Linked DNA regions of Homo sapiens: region 2 is linked to region 1. The links are contacts of gene promoters, found by promoter capture Hi-C in blood cells and fetal thymus (Javierre and others, 2016). All regions are on one chromosome and are shown on one strand. Each heading gives the region's core, a stretch centred on a gene start or on the middle of the fragment in contact. The rest is flanking DNA. Distances are from core to core; before and after follow the strand shown. Region 1 holds the start of TCF7L1 (transcription factor 7 like 1). Region 2 overlaps TCF7L1 (transcription factor 7 like 1).

Region 1 (5,906 bases), core at 2,027-4,526:
CTGGGAACTGAACTAACTTCTGTAAGGGCAAGTCACCAGGGAGACAAGATGTAGGTATGGGGGTGGGATGGGACATACTAAGTCCCCAAGAAAGTACATGTCCTAGGAGGCTTGAAAGGAGGCTGGTGCCTGGGCCAGGGCAGGGAACAACTGCAGAGATGAACAAGGACAGTCAGAGAGGCATGCAGAGACGAAAGGTTGGCTGCCTCAAGGAGGGGCTCCAAAATCCCACACGGGCCTGGATTTAGTAATCAGGAATCTCCAGGATCAGCAAGAATCAGCCTTTGGAAGTTCTTAGGCGAAAGAACACATAATGTGATAGAAGGAAGGAAGGAGGGGACACTAACAAAAATCTGTCTCACTTGGACTGTCAGAGAGAGCAGACAGCAGAGCCTGGATGAATCAAAATGCCCTAAAGAGAAATGGGTGCATGGAGAAATAGCCTTGAGGGAGCCATAGTCATATTTGATGGTGAAATAGTCATTTCTGGTGACTTTAACTGCATCAGGACTTGGCTGAGGGCTGATGCACAGATGCTAGTGCCTCCCAGACCCCTCTCTCTAGATATCCTAATAGTAAATGGAAACCTGAGACTTTAGCGGCATTAACTCTCCCCCATACGCAAAGTTACACGAATCCCAACAAAACTTGCAGAACTAAGCTACATGTGTGGGCACTGGTGGGAATCACTGAAAACCTAAATAAGACCGCAGCAGCTCGTTGATCCCCCCCCCCCTTTGATTGGCACGCACCTCTTTTCTTTTAATGAGAAAAAGCAACAGCCATAGACCCACATCCAGTTTTCACTGCAAAACTGACACTTACATTCAGGACTTCCTGGGGTGCTCCAGGCCAGCAGGGCCAAAGCTGCAAGACCTCCCTCCCTCTCGGGGCAAAACTGTGAGGTCTGTGTAGTCCCACTCCCCATTCCCCTCTCTCTCAGTCAGAGTCTCTTCCACCGCCCCCCGTCAATCCCCCTCCAACCCATCTGGTGATGGTAGCGCCCCCGCTGAACCAAATGTGGAGGACTTGGCTCTCCACCGACCGCTGTACAATGACAGCAGGAATGGCCATTCAGCACCTAGCCTTTCTCTAGCACCCTTTAATTATCGTCGTTATTTTAGGGCAGTCTTAGCATAAAGTGTGTTGCTGGGACCCTGCTCCTAAGAGGCTAACACTCCCTGCCCCCTTACCCACCGTCGACAGCGAAGTGGCAGGCAATGGGAATCTGGGCGGGAAGCAAAGAACTACTACGATTCACATCGCGCCCAAGCAGCAGCACGCGGGAACCTGGCACACAGTAGGTAGGCGTTCACCCAACATCTGTCATCGGACCCAGCACCTGGGCAGGGAGCCTAGGGGTGGAGTGGCGGCTTGGGGGACACAAAGGCCTCGCCAGCCCCCAGCTGCGCCCCTCGCAACGCGGGGGGCGGGAGTTTAGAGCCAGAGAGAGGGGGCGAAGGAATCCGCCCTCATTTGCACGTCGTCTGGGGCCCGGTCAATTTGCTTAATCACCGCTCTAAATGCCAGCGGGCAGCACACAATACGCGCCCATTAACAGGTTTAAAGTGTCGCAGCGCTCGCTTTAAATGAGAAAAGCAGGCGACAAAAGGGGGAAAAAGCCAAGTTCCTCAACTTGAAGAATGCCTTGGGTCGCCTCGAAATCATCTACGCGAGTTTAAAATTCGGAGCTAGCTCCGCAGAAAAGCTGAGGCCCCGGTGCGAGGGCTGGGGGTGGGAACGGGGGCTGTGAATAACCCGCCACGAAAACTGGGTTTCTTAGGAACCAGCCTGCAGCCGCCCAGTGAACCCGGAGTCGGAGGACAACGTCGCCAACCCAGCTCCCTAGGCCCCTTGCCCCACTGCCAGAGAAAGCTGACCGATTTCCAAGAAGGAAAGCGAGACCCCCCCAAAGCGGGCACAAATCCAAGTTTCCTTCGGTGCAGGCGAAGAATTCTGGAGGCCAAGGAAGATCCCAGAGGTGGACTCCAAAACCTCAACCCGCAAGAGGGGAAAAGTTAAAGTAACTTTACTTTCATCCAGGCACTGGCCAGCGCAGCCTCGCGCTCGGCCGCCAGAGAGTAGTTCAACTCCGCAAACAAGTTCTGCTTGGGATCGGCGCAGAAGGCCCCATCCCCCACTCCATGGCCAAGCCCGGGGGCGCATCCTGCGGGCCGCGGCCTCCCACCCTCCCCGGCGCGCCCGACGGGCACTCACGGTGCGCGCTCCTCCGGGAGACAGGGGTCCGTTGGAGAGGTACGGGCTGCTCAGGTCCGGGATCATCAGGAAGGGGTACCCAGGGTACGGGGGTCCTTTAAAGAACGCGCTGTCCTGAGGCCTTCTCACTGCGAACAAGACCAAGGCGAGGTGAGGCCCAGGCCCCCGGGACTGACAGCGCCGCGGCAGGGGGCTCGAGGCGGGAGCTGGGGACCCCAGCGCCCCCCACGCGCGCCCCACGGGGGCTGCCGCCAATAAAGGCGGAGGGCAAGGGTGCGTCCACCCAAGCAAGGGGGACGGTGGGCCGCCCGGGCTGAGCAGCGGAGCGCAGCGGGAATCGAGAGTGGGGGGCTGTCCCAGCGGGCACATACCTTCGGCGAAATAGTCCCGCGGCTTCTGGAAAGTGTCCCGGACGGGCTGCGGGCGCCTCTCCGCCTGCGGAGGAGACACAAAGGCAAGAGCGGGTGAGCGGACGCAGGGCCGGGATCCCCCGGGGGTGGCCGCGGTGCTTCCTTACCTCCGAGTCCGAGCTGCTGCTCTGGTTCTCCGACTCGTTGACCAGGGACGACTTGACCTCGTCTAGGTCCCGCTGCGCCGAGGCGCTATCGCTGCTCGGCTCCTGCTCCTCGCCCCCCTCGTCCTGGAAGGGGATCAGCTCGTCGTTCGCCCCGAGGTCGTCCCCTCCGCCGGCCGCCCCGGCGCTGGAGCCGCCGCCTCCCCCGCTGCCGCCGCCGCCGCCGCCGCCCCCGCCGCCGAGCTGGGGCATGGTGGGGCCGCGGGCCGGGGCCGCCGCTCTCGGAGCCCCTAGCCGCCCGCGCCCTGCCCGGCCCGGCCCGGCGCCCCTCCCGCCCGCTTGCGGGCCCGCTGCGCTAGCCGCCGCAACAAAGTTTGACAGGGCGTGGCCCCGCGGGAAGCGGGCCCGGCGCTGCCCGGCCGGGGCGCAGGCGGCTCGGCTCGGGCCCCTCCGGCAGCGCCGAGCCTAGGGCTCCCCAACTCGCCACCGCCGCCGCCTGCTCCGCCGGGGCGTCCCAGCCCCTGGCCCGCCGGGGAGGGGCGAGCGGGGAGGGAGGGAGGAGGGACCGCCGGGCTGGGCAGGGGGGCCGGAGGGAGGAGCCCCGGCTGCAAGCTGACACCCGCGCGCCTCGCGGAACCCGGAGAGCTGCGGTGCGCGCGCACACACACACATACACACGCACTCACACTCACACGTTCACACTCGCATCTTCCAGGGGCTGCGTCTCCCTGCAACGTGCACCGCCCCCAACCCCCTCCTGCGCCTCACACTGCACCCTCGGCGGCCCTCCCCACGGCCTCCCTGGAGTCCTGGAAGTCTTGCGCCCACCCCTCCGCATCCCCTAACTTTCTCCCAAAGAACCTCCAGAACTCCGCGCAGGTTCCCACCCCCTCCCACCGTATCGGCGCGCGGGCGGGCGGCACTGCCCCCTGCGGGAAAGCCTCGGACGCACATACTGGCCGCGGGGCCCTCCCCCTGCCTAGAGTCCCTCCGAGTGCGCGAGCTGATGCACGGACTAGGACACTGGGGACATCTATGGAACCCCGGAAAATGCCCGGCGGCTTTCCGCGCCTTTTTCCTGTGGGGTTCCAACGCGACCCCCGGCCCAGGTTTTCAACCTTGTACAGATATACAGATTTCCCTGCTGAAATCTTGAAGATCACCTTTTCTTCATTGTTTGGGACTAGGTCCTAAATCGAAAAATCGCGGTCTTGGGTTCCAAAAGAATTTGGATTTGGTTCATTGAGAGGGAAAATTGCCTGTCCAGTGATCTCCGAAGCCATTCACAAAGCTGCGTGAGTAGCCAGTGAACACGAGAAAAATGCTCAACCAGCCTCATACCTAAGTAATGCCTGTGGTGCGAGCGCCACGGCCCGCGCCTGGAGTTCCATCTACTCCCGAGGCCTAGGCAGGAGGATCGCTGGAGCCCAGGAGTTTGAGACCAGCCTGGGCAACATAGCAAGACCTTGTCTCCAAAAAAAAAATTTTTTTAATAAAGAAATGCCTGTTACAATGACATTAAGATGTCGTTTCTCTCCAACCTGTGCGGGAAAGTTTGAGGAAAATGAATATCTTGTGTTATCCTCCGTGGGGAACTATTAGAGCATAAACTTTGAAAACAGCTTGGAAGGCAGTATGGAACTATGTAAAACTATTTTCAGCCCAACTGGCAGAAGAGTTTCTACAGAGGTGCCCGCACATATGGGCAAAGCCACATATGCTAGGTTCAAAGCATCAGAGAGCTTGGTGACATGCATTCTTCATCTTTCTTTACAGTGACAGTCCATGCAGCTGGCCAGTTCTATGCAGTGTCCCCGCCCCTCCCCCCACCCATACACACACACACACACACACACACACACACACACACACACACACACACAGGCACATGGACCAAGATTGATTTTGGAGGAACATCTTTAAATGAAACACTATATATGACACTCACTATTTTATTTTTGTTTTTAAAAAAATTATACACATTTATTTCTGCGTAGAAAAAAATCTGAGAAGATGCAAATTATTATCAATGACTATTTCTGGGAAAGGATAAGTGAAAGGAGATAGTTTTCTGGTTTCTATGAACTTTATAACAAGCAGATATGCCTTTTCTAATTTTTTACACAATACATGAGTACAGTCTCATAAAGCGTTTTCAAATAACAGATGTATCTTGAGCAGTATCGAGTAACAAGTAAAAGTTCCTCTTTCCCCCTCAGGACACAGGACCCTTCTAATTAACCACTTTCAGTTAACTGCCTCTGGTTAACCACTGTCACTAGTTTGGTATATATCCTTCCAGACACTTTCCTAGGCAGTTATGAACATATGTAAACGTATTTACAGATATTCTGATGTACATACATAGAATCATACTCTTTGTATTATTGTGTGTTATTTTATTTTTATAAGATTTAAAAGTCAGACGATTTTTCATGTTTATGGTCCATAAATATATGAAAAACCTATTGTACTAGTTTTCTGCTGCTACTGTCACAAATCACGAAAACTTGGTGGCTTAAAACAACAGAAGTTTATCCTCTCATAGTTGTGGAAGACAGAAGTCCACTGTCAGTTTCACTGAGTAGAAATGGAGGTGTTGACGGGGCCATGCTCCCTCTGGAGGCTCCGAAAAGAATCTACCCTTGTCTCTTGCAGCTTCTGGGGGCTTGTGACCACATCACTCCCACCCTTGCGTCTGTAATCACATTGCCTTCTCCTTTTTTTGTCTGTGACAAATTTTCCTCTGCCCCCTTCTTGTAAGAAACCATACTTGTGGCCGGGCACAGTGGCTCACGCCTGTAATCCCAGCTCTTTGGGAAACCAAGGCAGGTGGATCACGAGGTCAGGAGTTCCAGACCAGCCTGGCCAACATGGTGAAACCCTGTCTCTACCAAAAATACAAAAAATTGGCCAGGTGTGGTGGCAGGCGCCTGTAATCCCCGCTACTTGGGAGGCTGAGGCAGGAGAATCGCTTGAATTTGGAGGGAGGAGGTTGCAGTGAGCTGAGATGGCACCACTGCACTCCGGCCTTGGCGACAGAGTGAGACTCTGTCTCAAAAAAAAAAAAAAAAAAAAAAAAGTGATACTTGTGATAGCATTTAAGGACCACCTGGATAACCTGTCCATGTCAAAATCCTTAACTTCATATCTGCAAAGACCTCTTTTCCTTAAA
Region 2 (6,323 bases), core at 1,208-3,707, 58 kb before region 1:
AACCCTCCTACCACCTCAGCCACAGGAGGGCCTTTTTTTTTTTAAACTTTTAAATACTAAAATAATTTCAGACTTATACAAAAGTTGCAAGAATAGTAAAATGAACTTCCACATACCACTCACCTACATACCCCAAATGTTAACATTTAACTACACTTACTTTATCTCTCTCTCTATATGCATTTTTCCCCAAACCATTTTAGAGTAAGATGCACACATGATGTCCCCTTTTGTCTAAATACTTCTGTATTTCCCAAAAAAGACATTTTCTTACAATACCAGTTTACCTAGTCATAAAATTGCCATCTTATTTATTTTAATTGCTTTTTATTTTTTAAGGCTAGTCAAGTGGAGCAGTGGTAGAGGAGAAGGAACAAAGAACAGAAAACTACCGCTGGTAGAATACTATCACTCAATCCACAGACTTTATTCAAATGCTGCCAGCTGTCCTGATAATGCCCTCTATTTATTTACTTATTTATTTTTAAATATAGACATGAGGTCTCGCTTTGTTGCCTAGGCTGGTCTTGAACTCCTGGGTTCAAGCAATCCTGCCACCTTGGCCTCCCAAAGTGCTAAGATTACAGGCATGAGCCACTGCACCCGGCCCTAATAATGCCCTTTAGAGCAAGAAAAAAGAAAGAAAAATGCATGATCAGTATCCCACCCAGACTAAATATCACTTAGTTTAAACTTGCCAGCTTTGAGACCTGCCTGAGACTTTGGCTCCTCAGCTGTGGAAAGAGCCATGGATGGGGAACTGTTACTGTCTACGCAGATTGGACAAGTCACTTGGCCCTCTGTGCTCTACTCGCCATCACCCACGAGAATAAAAGGACAGGGAAGCCATGGGCATTTTAGCCTGAGTGCTCTACATAAATATCAAGCACAGCAAAGGTGGTCAGTCAGCGGAGTTACAACTAACAAAGCAACCTTTGGCTTCTCCCAGGTATCGATACAATTCATTCAAATGAAAAAATAAGAACTTAATTTTATTGAGTGATTACCCAGTTAGATAAGACAGAGCGGGCACAGTGGCTTATGCCTGTAATCCTGGTGCTTTATGAGGCTGAGGTGGGAGGATTGCTTGAGGCCATGAGTTCAAGACCAGCCTGGGCAACAAAAACTTGGTAGAGAAACAAAAATTTCTCTACAAAAAATTTAAAAAAAATTAGCCAAGGATGGTAGTGCATGCCTGTATCCCACTTACTCGGGAGGCTGAGGCAGGAGGATCACTTGAGCCCAGGAGTTCAAGGTTGCAATGAGCTGTGATCACACCACTGCACTTCAGTGCAGTGCACTTAAAAAAAAAAAAAAAAAGATTAGTTAGGCCAGGTGCCACGGCTCACACGTGTAATCCCAGCACTCTGGGAGGCCGAGGCAGATGGATCACCTGAGGCCAGGAGTTCGAGACCAGCCTGAACAACATGCTGAAAACCCCATCTCTACTAAAAATACAAAAATCAGTTGGGCATACATGCCTGTAATCTCAACTACCCAGGAGGCTGACGCATGAGAATCGCTTGAATCCGGGAGGCGGAGGTTGCAGTGAGCCAACATCACACCACTGCCTGGGCAACAGATCGGGACTCTGTCTCAAAAAAATAAATAAAAAAAAAATAAAATTAGAGCTCTACATGTTTCACATGTATCATCTCATTTAATACATACTGTTTTCACTGCTAGCTCCATTTTGCAGATGACTAGACTGAGTTTGGGGGAGAGGGGCGGTAGCTGACTGATTTGCTCAAGCTCTTTCCAATGCTTAAATTCAGGATTAGAAATGAGGAGGATAGAAAACATGTAGTCATTTGCAAGATGACATATCTTCATTAGGGTGAAATAGGGTAGAAGGAAGCAGACCTCTGAATGGAGACCACTGCCCCTCAGCTAACTGTGGCTGCACCTGCCATCAGGCACAGGGCTACATAGCTGGAACACCCAGCCCTATGCAGCACAGAGTCCCCTTGTCAGAGGACAAATGGATTCTGGGACCATAGTGAAAACAAAAGTGCACTAAGTTCCATGCTGCAAAATGACTTCTCTTGGTGACCTGGAGTTAAATTTTTGTCCCCTCCCTATGAAAAGCTTTATCCTAGGGACTTGAAGATGAAGTTTCTTCCCTTTGTAGGAAGTTGGTCACATCCAATGAGGAAATAAAATAAACTTCTTTTTTTTTTTTTTTTGAGATGGAGTTTCACTCTTGTTGCCCAGGCTGGAGTGCAGTGACAAAATCTCAGCTCACTGCAACCTCTGCCTTCCAGCTGCAAGCGATTCTCCTGCCTCAGCCTTCCGAGTAGCTGGGATTACAGGCACCTGCCACCACACCCACCTAATCTTTGTATTTTTAGTAGAGACAGAGTTTCACCACGTTGATCAGGCTGGTCTCGAACTCCTGACCTCGTGATCTGCCCTCCTCAGCCTCCGAAAGTGCTGGGATTACAGGCATGAGTCACGTGCCAAGGAAATCAACTTCTAAATGCACTAAACAGAGTAGTACAGAGCACACAGCATGCAAATACTAACTAACCCTATGAGAGGTGCCATCCCACTTCTATACCATTGCATAGTGCAGGGAGCTGAGGCCAGGCAGGGTTTGGTGATCTGGCCTGGGCTGGCACCAGATCAGGGTCTGTGAGATGTCACATAGCACCTGTGCCTAACAGAAGAAGCTGGCGGGACCAGAGGGTTTGAAACCAATGTCATGTTAAGTGGTTCTACATCCCTCCCTTAGCCATGGGGCAACCTAACTCCTTCCTTGGGAGGAAGGCCATGCAGTGGGTTTGTGATCACCTCCCCAGGGTATGTGACAAGTAGGAAAGCTTTTCCCTATCTGTCCTCAGCACTGATACCACCACTCGGCACTGGCAGCTTGGCAAGTGTTTCTATATTGTGTGCTGCGTTTCTCCAAATAAGTTATAAGGCTCTTAAAGACTAGTAGAGGTATTTTTCCTTTTCTTCCTTCTTTCTTAACACTTAAAATTGAAGGAGAAATTATAAAGATAACTCAGTTCACTGCACCAGAGTCATTAATGCTGGCAGCAGCCCTCGCCTCAGTTGCTAAGAGCCTAAGCCCCCGTTTCCACTGAAGCTCTGCCACTCACCTTGGGAAGCCACTTAATATTTCTGAGCCTCAGGTATTGCGTCCATAAATGGGAATAATAACCTTTCCTACCTTAAAATGCCTGCAGCACTTACCACTCATACGTGGGTGTATATAACAACAGAACAGCTTAAGTCAGTGAAGTATTATGTACAAAGCTCTTAGTCCAGTAAGTTCCCAATAAATAGAAGATTCTACTATCTCTTTGGCTACTACTGTGACTGCTGCTGCTGTGATCCTTAAACACAATTTTGTAAAACTAAGAAACACAAAGGCTCCTTAGCATCTTGGCCTGTGCTTTTCATTCCCCCATGTTCCTAGGTCAGTCATCAGGTGCCAGAGGTTCCCAGGGTGTTGGCTGCCATATGGTAAGTGTCCATGAAGTCCATTCTCCCATCTCCACATCTACCACCAACTGGTTCCAAGTCAGCACCAGGTCCTGCCCTTTCCTGCAAACCAGCCACCCAAGACTGGCCTCTGCAGAGGCCTATGGTGCTCCTTACTCAGCCTCTCAAATTCCAAATGCAGATCCCTGGCCATCAGCACTCTGTTCTACGGCAACTTCCCACCTTGAAAATGTCCTTCGTCCCTCCAAGATCTCAAAGTCTACTCTCCTTGACCTAAGAGGTGAGCCCAGTCTTTTCAGTAAGGTGATCACACCCCAAGAGGCAAAATATTCTGTGGCCTCTTCAAAGGACAGTAAAGTACATCAGTGTGCCTGGGGCTATATGAAAGGAGCAGCAATGTAGTTCACTCCTTCAACAAGGACTTACTGAGTGCCTCAGGTATGTGGGACTATAAAGATAAAGAAGACAAGGTCTCTACCCTTAAGCAGGGGCTCCAAGAGGTGTACACAAAGATAAAAGCTGAAGGTCAGGACCAAAGATAAGCCCTAGCAGCCCTGAACTTGCTCATTCCCAGCTCACTGCAAGGTATTCCCACCCCTCCCTTCCAGAGGCTCCAAGTGCACAGAATGAATGAACCCCAAGTGGCTGTCCAGTGTCATTCCTCTGGGCTCACTCCCGGGCCCTGGGCTTCTCCAAACAATTGGAGGCAGGCCGAGTGGGCGCATTCTCATGTGCAAGGCTCGCAGCGCCCCTCTCAGCTGATTGTGTCCAGGCGGCCGGGGTCTCGGAGGCGCATGAATGCCCCTGAATGGGCCCTTTCAGCCTGATGGACAGGAGCTGAAAGCTGCACACACACAAAAGCCACTGGGCAGCTGGGAGGGCTCCAGCCCCGGGGTTTGCCCACGGGAAGGGAGGCCGTCCTTCCACAAAGAGCAGTGTGAAGACTTCTCCACTTTTCAATGGCATCCTCTGGCCGCCAACTGTACAGCACCCCTACCCCCACCCCTGATGGTGGTAACAGCAGCAGAGGATGGCACTACATGGAGAAGCCTTAGAGGGCTAGAGGCAGAAATTAAAATCCAACAAATAAATAACAGAATGCCCTTTTCTTTAAGAGCAGGATGGGGATCTGAGCCAAAGGCCCTGAAGGGCGCCTCCATGTGCCCATCATGTACATCTGTAAGCAGCATTCCTGACACCCACAGTGATCTTTAAGGACACAGACTGACCTGAGATTGTCTAACATGTCACCAAGAAAAATGATCTCGAAAGGACACGGCCAATATTTAAATCAGGAATGGAGAGTCCCAATTCTTGTGTCACTCACTTGGTATATTCCAGGAAAAAAAAAATCCCCGAAGCGACACTTGTATTTTTAAATAGGACCAGGAAGGGGAGAATCACCCATCTGGAATTCTTTTAATTGCTTCGGGGGGAAGGGCAGCCTCCACCAGTTGGAGGAGCAGAGAAGTCTATTTACACTGTTGCACACAAATATTTTAAGTTCACAGTCAGGTGGCTACTTTGGAAGGGACGATGCTCTGCTTCTGAGATCACATTACTTTAGAAACACCCCCCCAAAAAGATAATTAAAGATAGTTCCTCCTCATAATGCAATACTATAAGGAGCAATTAAAATTAAATTAGCTTGTCATAATAAAAAAGATGGATTATGTTCTTAGGCTTCCCAACCCGGAGTTAGTAATTCATGGAGAGAAGCCTGTGACCAAGTAGCAGTTTTACTAAGGAAATATTAAACATTCAGACCACTTTTGTGAGTGGACCAAGATACCAGGGAGATACATACCCTGGCATAATTATTGCTTTTGTTTACATTTATTTTATTTTTTAAATAATGGAATGATTCAAACACATAATAAAGGACAGGGAAAAACACAACAAATAAAATCCATCATCCTAAATTCACAAATGTTAACATTTTGTTATGTTTGCTTCAAGACCAGGTTTTTCTAAACAAATAAAATGTTATGAAATCAGATGAAGCCTCCTTTTGCAGAGGCAACTGTATGTCCATATTTTTACAGGTTTGCCATTCTTGATGTGACATAAACAGAATGTAATATTGTTTTAACTTTTTATTTCAAAATGATTATAGATTCATAGGAAGTTGGAAAAAAAGTGTACAGGGAGGTTCCAAGCATCTAGCCTAGCCTCCCCCGATGTTAACGTCTTGCATAGCTAACTAGCATGCTATCAAAACTAGGATATTGAGATTGGCACACTCCACAGAACTTTCTCAGATTTCACCAGTTTTACAAACACTCGTGTGTGTGTGTGTATGTGTAGCCCTATGTAATTTTGTCACATGTGTAGCTTTGTGTAACAACCACAATCAAAATACTAAACTGTACCATTACCACCAGATTCTCTCATGCTACCCCTTTTGAGCAACACCTATCCCTTATTCCCCTCATCCCTAGCACCTGGCAACCACTCATCTGTTCCCCCTCGCTATAATTTTGTCATTTCACGAATGTTATATAAATGGCAAATGCAGTATATAACCTTTGGAGACTGACTTTTTCGTTCAGCATCATTTCCTTGAGGCTCGCCTATATTGTTGCATGTGATCAATAATTTTTTCTTTTTTATTGCTGTATTCCATGGTATAGATATACCACAGTTTGGTCAACCATACACCACTGAAGAACATCTGGATAGTTTCCAGATTGAGGCTATTTTGAATGAAGGTGTTATGAACATTCACATGTATAAGTTTCCTTGTGAACATAAGAGAAAGGCCCTAGAAGAGCCAAAACTATTTTGAAAAAGAATAAAGGAATCTCTCTTCCCAGTGTTAAGGCTTACTATATAGCTCCAGTAACTGTGACAGCATGGTCTTGGTAGAGGGC

What was found. Contacts are between HindIII fragments. The CHiCAGO score rates a contact against its expected background, and 5 or more counts as called.
Region 2: a fragment that was not itself captured here is called in contact with the fragment with the promoter of TCF7L1 in region 1 in 1 of 17 cell types (endothelial precursors); the score reaches 5.8 in endothelial precursors.

The regions. Positions count from the first base shown.
Region 1 is chr2:85,130,762-85,136,667 of GRCh38, reverse strand. TCF7L1 (transcription factor 7 like 1) reads right to left here and starts at 3,276. Exons shown (of 12, transcript NM_031283.3): 1 at 2,735-3,276; 2 at 2,589-2,652; 3 at 2,218-2,345. The coding sequence starts at 2,983. RefSeq lists enhancers at 943-1,516, 1,517-2,091, 2,667-3,241 and a silencer at 3,607-3,676. The HindIII fragment of the contact is 24,991 bases long and covers 1-5,906 here.
Region 2 is chr2:85,187,689-85,194,011 of GRCh38, reverse strand. The region is part of intron 3 of TCF7L1 (transcription factor 7 like 1); the gene reads right to left. Among named protein-coding and RNA genes, the nearest start is that of TCF7L1-IT1, 4.4 kb to the right of the region's middle. RefSeq lists an enhancer at 3,720-4,221. The HindIII fragment of the contact is 734 bases long and covers 2,091-2,824 here.